2 separate regions of the Homo sapiens genome follow, and region 1 is linked to region 2. Evidence: promoter capture Hi-C in human tissues and cell types (Jung and others, 2019). All regions are on one chromosome and are shown on one strand. The core of a region is centred on a gene start or on the middle of the fragment in contact, and the rest is flanking DNA. Distances in the headings are between cores, read along the strand shown. Region 1 overlaps RHEB (Ras homolog, mTORC1 binding). Region 2 holds the start of WDR86 (WD repeat domain 86).

Region 1 (4,464 bases), core at 987-3,486, 62 kb before region 2:
ATTACCCGGGTGTGGTGGCGGGTGCCTGTAATCCCAGCTGCTCGGGAGGCTGAGGCAGGAGAATCTCTTGAACCTGGGAGGCGGAGACTGTATCATGAGCTGAAATCATGCCATTGCACTTCAGCCTGAGCGACAAAGCAAGGCTGTGTCTCAAAAAAAAAACAAAAAAACAACACTGGTTAAAGGGAAAAAAAATCGGAAAGGTGATGTCAATCTCCAGTGTTTTGTTTTAAAGCATAAATATACATTCAGTCACTCATCTTGTGAAATTTTCAAATTGTCATCTTTGAATATGAGTTCACCCACTGCTGTTCAGTATGACTACATCCACGATTTGTCCATTATGACTTCTGGTTCGGTTTCTTCCGAGTGAGATGCTTGGGAAACAGTCTACACCTCAACTATTTAGATTGCTGTGATTTTCCCCACCAGTCTTTTTCAGTTGGTTTGGCACACCTTATTAAGGAGCACCGTTTTTAGTAGATCAACTCACAGTATTCAACTTCTAGTTTTCAGACAAACAAAACTCTGTCTACACATACTTCAAAAGTTTGCAACATAAATTATGACTATGATGAATTTAACTGGCATAAGTGGGTTTGGGAACAAATGGGGCTGTTTTAAATAATGCCTTTTTTTTCTAGTAGCTCGTAGTTTAATCAGCATTCTCAAATTTGAGACATGAGGGAGTATGAGAAGAGTGGTGTTTTGTTTTTTAGAAATCTGTATGCTGAATACACAAATATTTATGAATATCCAAGAAATACGTCAGTAAAACTTTCCGAATCAACCAGTTTGATTCAGAAAATCAGTGATCTCAAGAAATTTAGCCACTTAGAACAGTACACATTTATGATCTCACAGTTTTTGTGGGTCAGGAATCTGGGTGTGGCCTAGCTGTGTCCTCTGCTTCAGTCTCTCAGAGCCACAGTGTGGGTATCAGCAGGGGCTGCAGTCCCATCTGAAGGCTTGCCTGGGGGAAGATGTTTCCCAGCGTGTTCACGTGGCTCTTGACAGGGTTGAGTTTCTTGCAAGTTGTTGGACTGAGCTTCTTAGTTCCTTGCTGGCCGCTGGCCTGAGGCTGCCCTCTGCTCCTTGCCAGGTGCTTCACTTCATTGGGGCAGGTGCACAAGAGAGCCAGGGAATTTCCTGCATGACAAGCCACTGTCTTTTATAACCTAACCGCAAAAGGGACATTCCATCACCTTTGCCATATTCTGTTCATTAGACGCACGTCACTAGGTCCATGCAGGGAGATGACACACAGTGTGGCCACTAGGAGAGCAGGAGATCTGGGAGCCGGCTCCAAGCTGCCTGCCACACAGTCCTAGTTCTTTCAGCTGTTTCTCACGTGACAGGGTACTGTATTTTTGCCCAAGTGGCGACACTTTTAAAGATAGGCAAATACAGCATGCGGAGGAAACCGTGGTTCTGTAATGCAACCGCAGGTCCTTAGGACACCCATATCCCATTTGTTGACCCACAGCGAGCTTGTAGGGGGGTTAAATTTCATTTTTGTTTTTATCAAATGACAGCACACATCGTTTAAAATAGCACAGTGTGTAATTCATTCAACAAGCTAACTTATTCTGAAGCTTGTGATGCAATCATGAACAAAGCAGACAAATCCCTGCCCTTGCGGACCTATTATTTCTGGTGTGGGAGACAAACAGTAAAACGACACACATGCGAGATAGGATGTCTGTGACCATGCTGCCAAGAAAAATAAAGTACGGAAGGGGTAAGAAATGGAAAGGAAATTTGTCATTTAGGGTAAACAGAAGAGGTGTAAGAAGTGACATTTGAGGCTGGGTGTGGTGGCTCACGCCTGTAATCCCAGCACTTTGGGAGGCCGAGGCAGGCGGATCACGAGGTCAGAAGTTTGCGGCTTGAGAGTCACTGGGGCCGAGTAAAGATGGCCACCCATCAGAGGATGTTGAACCAGGCACCGTCCATCTGCTGCAGCAGAGTCCTCTGGTTGCTGTGCTGAGCAGGGGTGGCGGGGAAGGGTTGGGGCTGTGGAACTGATGCAGGCAGACTTGGGCCAGGAATTCACACCTCAGCGGCAGCAGTGGAGGGGAGTGAGAAGCCGTCAGATTCTAGGTAGGATTTGAAAGTAGAGCCAGTGATGTGCTGGCAGATGTTTGCATGGGTTTTTTGGGGGAGGGTGGAAAATGATTTGTGGCCATTTGCCAGCAGTCAGTGGTATAAATAATCCTGCTGTGGCAGATTTCAAGTGATCATTATGACATCTCAGATCCCCTTCCCGGTGAGAGCCACCTCCATCCTAGAGTCATCGGCTCATTGATCTGATTGAAAGCCAAGAGATACTGGCATCACCCAGAGAATGTATGTACCTAGGAAAGAACACAGGAGCAGGCTGAATGTACTAGGGCACTCTAGGAAAAGCTGTTCAAGTTGTAATGTAAACAGTTGGTTCTTTGCTGAATGAGTTGGGTGATTAAAATTTGCATTTATGTGGTTTCTCAGCCCAGTGGTAGGCTTTCCGTTTGAATGCCTTACCTGTTTCACTTTGAATATCCTCAGTCAGGGTTGCTGAGTGTCAGATGTATGCACATGTGAATGGATTGCTAGGAAAAAACAGGAGTTCTTTGTGTTCATTTTATGTTATGTTAAAATGGTGAGTCTGTGACATTTTACATTTTTCCAGCTGGCAACATAACATACATTTAAAAACTTCAACATTAAAATGGATGTCTAATTTATACTTTTTGTTTTATAGTTTTGAAGTGATTAAAGTTATCCATGGCAAATTGTTGGATATGGTGGGGAAAGTACAGTAAGTAGTACCATTTTATCTGCTTGTTAGAGAAACTTCTTTTAATAGTATCTTCTGAGCAATACAATCTGGCACTTACTGGTTTGTCTTTTTTTTCTTACAAATAGAATACCTATTATGTTGGTTGGGAATAAGAAAGACCTGCATATGGAAAGGTATGTAGCTTTTATAAAGTCAAATCTAAGATGATTTAGTCACTGAAGTATCATTTTAATTATTGTTCTGATGTCAAGAATATTTTTAGCTGTAGCATTTTTATCCGTTCAGAGGTGTTATGGTCGTGTGCAGCAGAAGCAAAAGTGGAATAGAAATCTCACATTCCTCTAGAAAAGAGAGAGCAAACTTTATAGGAAACTACCTTTAGGTTATCTGCCACTTTGCATAAAGCAAATTCTAAAAAGACATAGTGCTCATTTATGCAGCAAGTGGTTTTTGAGTACCAGGGTTTGGGATTACAGTGAGGAGCAAAGGAGGCAGATGTCCCCTGCCCAGGCAGCTTCATGTCAGAGAGGAAGAGACTCTACAGCCTGCATGCAAGAGAATTGAGCTTTCAGGCTCTTTCACAATTTCCCCTGGCCTTGGGTGCTTACAACCTAGCTGTAAAATAGTCAATTGTTACAGATACGGGAGTACTGGAAAATAAGATCATGTTCTCTGAGCTGGAAGGTTTGCTGGAGCATGGATAATCCCATAAAGCAATGTCTATTCTGTTCCCCAGCTCAGGCGTAATTAAAACACTCCTGTGTTACATTCTTGATGCTAATGTTAGGCCAGGGCATGGTTCTGCTTCATGAGAAAGAAATTGACCAAAATGGAGCCTGTTTCATAAATCAATTATACATGTTTTATATAATGAAGAGCAAAGTACTTTAACTAGAATTTTATTTTTTCTTTAGGGTGATCAGTTATGAAGAAGGGAAAGCTTTGGCAGAATCTTGGAATGCAGCTTTTTTGGAATCTTCTGCTAAAGAAAATCAGGTAACAGATTCTATAAACCTCATTTTGCATTGCGTTCTCATCAGTCGCAGGGATGTGTTCCTTGCAGTTGGCATTTGACCTCTGTCTTGATCACTCCTGTGTAACATCTGGCCTTCCTCCATTTCTAATACCAAGTTTTGTGTTGCTTTAGGAAGATACTACTTAGGTGTTTATAAATTCAGTCAGTATTCTACTTACAGTGGAACCTAGGATATTTGTAGGATAAACAGAAACTATTAGTAAAGGAAATACTACCTTTTGTAAACATATATTTTTGGTTTGTATTAATAGCTGGTACAGAAATAAGTCCATACAGGGGAAAAAAAAAGAATTATATCACTTTAGTACTAATTTTGTAACTACCCACCCCCTGGCTTTTTTTCTGTTAGATGAAACCGGGTCAGACGTACGTGTTAATTGTTAACATAGAAATGATGAAGAACCATCTTATAAGCATTTAGTACCAATTTCACCCCGCAGATGTGCCTTCAAAGGCATGTTCTGGGAAGGATGTAGATTCTGCCTCCGGAGGCTTCACAGTCCTGTATGAGCCCTTCTCTTCCATTGCTCTAATTTAGACCCCCGGCACCAAGCTTGTCTCCCGCCCCCAGTGCATTTTTCACCTATACATTTTTTTTGCTGCCCTTAATTTTCTAAAGATACACATCTGATGGTATCATCCTCTA
Region 2 (4,336 bases), core at 1,837-4,336:
CAGCTTTCCCTTAAATGTGCTCAGAGCACTGGCATCAGCCTTACATTTGGGCAGAATCATCTTACACAAAGCCTATTTTAAAGTAAAGTGTTGAATATCTCATGTAATTTATTGAATACTGCACCAAAAGTGAAAAACTGATTGTATTGGCACTTGAAGTACAATTTCTACTGAATGTCATCACTTTCATACCATCATAAAGTTGAACAATGCTAAGTTGGGACTATCTGTACAATTACCCTCAAATATATCTTCGATCATACACTCTCACCCCCGGGGTGAAAAACCTTCAGGGCTTCCCGTTTTCTCTCGACTGCCTTGGGCCTGGGGTAGCAAGGTCTTCTCCCGGGAGCACCGTGCTTGTGAGAGTCTGCAGGTGGCTGCAGGACTGGGAAGGCTTCCGTCCTGTTGAAAAATACTAGCACTTAGCACAGTACCTGACACACAGTAAGTACCCAAACTATGAAGATGATGACCACAGGCACCCTCACCACCAGCATTGCAGGTTGTGCCAGAAGGGAAAAAGCAATTCTGACAAAGCTCTGGCTATGACGTTCCCTGTGGGCGCCCCTCAAGGTGCCTCCCTCTGTCACCACCTACACACACACACACACACACAACTCAGGAATATCCAGCTTTCACCATGCTTCTCAGAGAGGCCCCAGAGGGTCACTCTTTCCAGCAGGGTAAATTGTGGCAGTCCCTGTGGCACGGGGAATGAGCACTCCCTGGCACAAAATGCACCCGCCCCCCAACCCTTCACTTGTTAAACACTGCCCATTTCTTGCTTCTTAAAGCTTAACCATTTCCTCCTACACCCTACCAGGTTCCCTTCCCAAGGTGCCTTCCATTTATAAAGTGATTAGGTCCAGGAGGGCCTGGGCACCACGGGACTCCAGGCCCTCTTGGAGGCTCCAGAAGAGTTAAAGGTGTGAAAGGGGAAGGGAGCCCAGGTTCTGCTGGGGACCCAGCCTGACTCCTGGGTCTCTATAGCTTTGCTATCTTAAGGTGGAGGTTGGGGGAGACCCCAGTTTCAGGGGAATTAGGGGAGACCTCAGTTCCAGGGGAATTCGGTGCTGTTTTCCAATCTACCCAGCTTCTTGTACTCCTGTTAGATCTGGGGGCAATTTCCCAGAGGAGAGTCTGTAATCTACGACCTGCAAGAGAAAAGGGAAGACAGGCTGGCTGAGGACATCTGCACCCACAGCTCTACAGTCCAGACTCAACCCCCAGAGATGGCTGGCTCATCCCCACCAGGGGGCCACTTTGTGCCAAACCGGAGAAGGAGGGGTGGGGGAGGTGGAGAAGCCAAGAACAAAAAATCTATCAACCTGGAAAGAGGAAGTAGGTAAGGTCAGCGGTGTGTGGACTGCAGGCTCCCAAGATGATGGCGCTGGCGCTTCTGAACGCTCTGCCTGCTGGGAGCTGAGCATGGGGCTGATGGCTTGTGTTGGCTGCAGAGGAGAGGAACCAGAGTGCATGGGTGCCACCTTGCTCAGGAATCCTGGGTGACCTCCTTGAAAGTTAAGCTTTTCTCCTGGTGGTTCTTTCCTCTGGCCCACGACCAGGCAAGCTCGCCCAACCTACGATCTGTCCCCAGCTCCCAAACTGCTTTCAAACCCCTCCCCTCTTAGTTTCCAAAAGAGTCGATGCCTGGTTCTCCTTGGCCCCTCTGCCCAGAAAGTTTGGGTTTCCTCTGGCACTTCTCCGGATAAACCCTCCCAGCCTCCATGGTCCTCACATTCACCTTCCCCAAGGGCTGCAGCCGCAGGGCCTGCCCAAGATCCCCACTATACCGAGTCTGTCCTCACCTGGAGGCCACACCGCAGTTTCACACCTGGATGTGCAATGGGCCCCCTGAGGTTCACCGGTTCCTAAGAGGAACTGGTGATCAGCCTGTAGGGGACAAAACAGTCTACCCAGCCTCTCAGCACAAGACAGGCTCCCCGGCCTCTCCCGCCTCGCAGGCATCCAAATGCTGAAGCCTCCACCTCCTGAAAACGTCTCTCCTTTCGGCCTCCCTCTCTCCGGCTGGATGACCCCAAATCTCGTCCTAACGCTCCTCCACTGCCCCTCTCTCCACCACCTGCTAAGGAAGGGCCACGCTCCTTAAGCTGAGGCGCCAGCTGCTTTACAAGTTTTGAGGGAAAAGAACGGATTTCTCTGGTTAGGCCACTCTGGGTATAAACGACCCAACGGCCTGGGACACCCCACGATGGGGTTTTCTTTTGGAGTCTGGATAGAGCAGAGCGTGCAGTACTGGTCGTCCCATTGCGGGCTAGCTCGCCAAAGACGCCCCTTCCTTGCCCTTCTCCCTAGGCTCCTGAGAGAGCCCTGGAGCGTTCTGGAAATCCTGCTACCTTTAGGACCTGGGGGATCCGAGTAGGGGGGTCACCTTCCCCGTCCCCAGCGAAGTCGGCGCCGGAACTGCCCTAATGGAAACCAGCCGCCGGGCGCTCCGGGAGGGCTCAGGCCGACCCCGGGGTCCATTAGAGGCGCCCCAGGCCGAGGGAGCCCGCGGCGGCTGGAAGGTGAACTTGACATCCCGGCTCCACCGACCCCGCAGCGGCTCGCACCTCATCCCCACTCCGGCCAGACCAAAGTAGAATCCTGGGTGTGCGCGTGATTTCCCAGGGAGGGCGGACTCGGGGCTTTCCCTGTCGCACCCTCCATTGGGGGACCGCCCCCAAGTCCCCGAGAGCCCCTCGGGCAGAGTCCTTAGGGCTCAGAGCATGGGAGGACCTGGCTTGCCTGGTGGAGGCGAGTAGCCGAGGGGTCGGTGGAGCTGCGCCCCAAATGAGTTCCCGGCGCGCGATTCTCCCCGACCCCGACCCTTTGTCCGCCTCCCCCTCCCTCGTCCCGGCCCTTGGCTCAGGGGACCCAGGCGGCGGCGGCGGAGGTGGCAGAGGCCAGAGCCCAGAGGCGCAGCCCGGGCAGCTAGGAGGGTCGCACGTGGAGCCGTCCCCCGGACCCGCACAGCGACGAAGGGGGGAGGCTGCAGGCGCGCGGGGTGGGGGCTGGGGCGCAGCCCGAGAAGTGGGAGGGGATCGGGTGAGGGGTGGTCTCTGAGGAGGAGCCAGGCTGGACCGTATTGTTCCGCGCTCGGCCGGGGAGGGCGCGGGGCGCTCGGCTTCCCGTGTTCCTCTCCCCGCCCCAGCCCCGTGGGCGCGAGAGGAGGCGGGGGGCTCCTTGTGCACCAGAGACGCAGCTGCCTTGTTCGCCCGGTGGGGTGTGGATCCTCCGAGCGGTGCTGGGAAGGGGGTTCTCTCTGCCCGCGCGCCCAGGACTCTACCCAGGGCGGAGGTCCCGAGTGGGCCGCCCCCCGCAGCGCCCTGGGTTCGCGGGCCCAGAGGCTGGAGGCAGCGGGGAGCTAGGGTCCTTCACCCTCCCCTCGCCGCGTGCCTCCGCAGGAGTCGGGCTCCCCGTTCCCCGCGATGGCCGCGGGCCGCAGTCGTACGGAGCCGCCGCGCGGACCCCGGGGCGCCCCTCCCTAGCGGGGCGCAGCTCCTTCTTGTTCCCCGCCCTGCCAGCGGGATGGGGGGCGGCGGGTCGGCCCTGAGGGTCTGCGCCGACCACCGCGGGGGCATCAACTGGCTGAGCCTGAGCCCCGACGGGCAGCGCCTGCTGACGGGCAGCGAGGACGGCACGGCCCGGCTCTGGAGCACCGCGGACGGCCAGTGCTGCGCGCTCCTGCAAGGTAGACCCTCCCACTCCCTCCCTGACCTCTTCGCCGCAGCTCACCGGCCCCAGACCGCGGACCCCAGCTCCTGCGCCCGCAGACCCCTTTCTAGAAGTCCAGCCCCCGCTCATCCCGGCACACTAGCGGAAGAGCGCTTGTCTGGGCCCAGCATCTGGCTGTTGAGCGCACGGCAGGGCAGGGTGAGGTCTGGGGGTGGGGTGCGGGTGCAGAGCAGGGTGCGGCCGGGATCGGGTGGGTGGGTCGAGGGGCGTCCGCTACAAAGGCGAAGATCATTTGTCAACCAGCGGCAGGAAATCTCCCTTGACAACAATGTTAACAAACAAAAAGTTGCACCTATACTCCTTCTAAGCAAACCTTCCCTTGTCTCTAGGTGCCTTGTGGCCTCTTTGTGGCCAATTGTGCTCTTCTGCTGGCATTTCCTGTTGACGACTCTCACAGCAACAGTAGACGCTTGTTAAGGGCCAGCGGTGCGGAGAAGTGTGCCGTCGTCACACTATGTTACCCCACATACAGACGTGGAAACAGGCTGGGAGTTAAGTAATTCGCCCAGGTCGCACAGCCAGTGAGGGGTAGATGGCAGTCTGAGCCCTCTCATTGCTGTAAACCCTGCCTGCATGCCTGTTGGTTTCTATTTGT

Evidence for each region. The method cuts DNA at HindIII sites, captures the fragments that hold promoters and counts their contacts. A contact is called where the count stands out against the background at its distance.
Region 1: a fragment that was not itself captured here is called in contact with the fragment with the promoter of WDR86 in region 2 in 1 of the 25 tissues and cell types used here (IMR-90 fibroblasts).

Annotation. Positions count from the first base shown.
Region 1 is chr7:151,469,885-151,474,348 of GRCh38, reverse strand. RHEB (Ras homolog, mTORC1 binding) reads left to right here. Exons shown (of 8, transcript NM_005614.4): 5 at 2,744-2,800; 6 at 2,908-2,955; 7 at 3,697-3,778. Among named protein-coding and RNA genes, the nearest start is that of CRYGN, 32 kb to the right of the region's middle. RefSeq lists an enhancer at 1,024-1,283 and a silencer at 2,504-2,553. The HindIII fragment of the contact is 3,622 bases long and covers 426-4,047 here.
Region 2 is chr7:151,408,788-151,413,123 of GRCh38, reverse strand. It overlaps WDR86 (WD repeat domain 86), which reads left to right and starts at 3,086. Exons shown (of 6, transcript NM_198285.3): 1 at 3,086-3,697. The coding sequence starts at 3,535. WDR86-AS1 (WDR86 antisense RNA 1) reads right to left here and starts at 3,963. Exons shown (of 6, transcript NR_109857.1): 1 at 3,742-3,963; 2 at 1,812-1,896; 3 at 1,332-1,454; 4 at 1,054-1,157; 5 at 272-405. RefSeq lists an enhancer at 1,888-2,520. The HindIII fragment of the contact is 9,897 bases long and covers 1,164-4,336 here.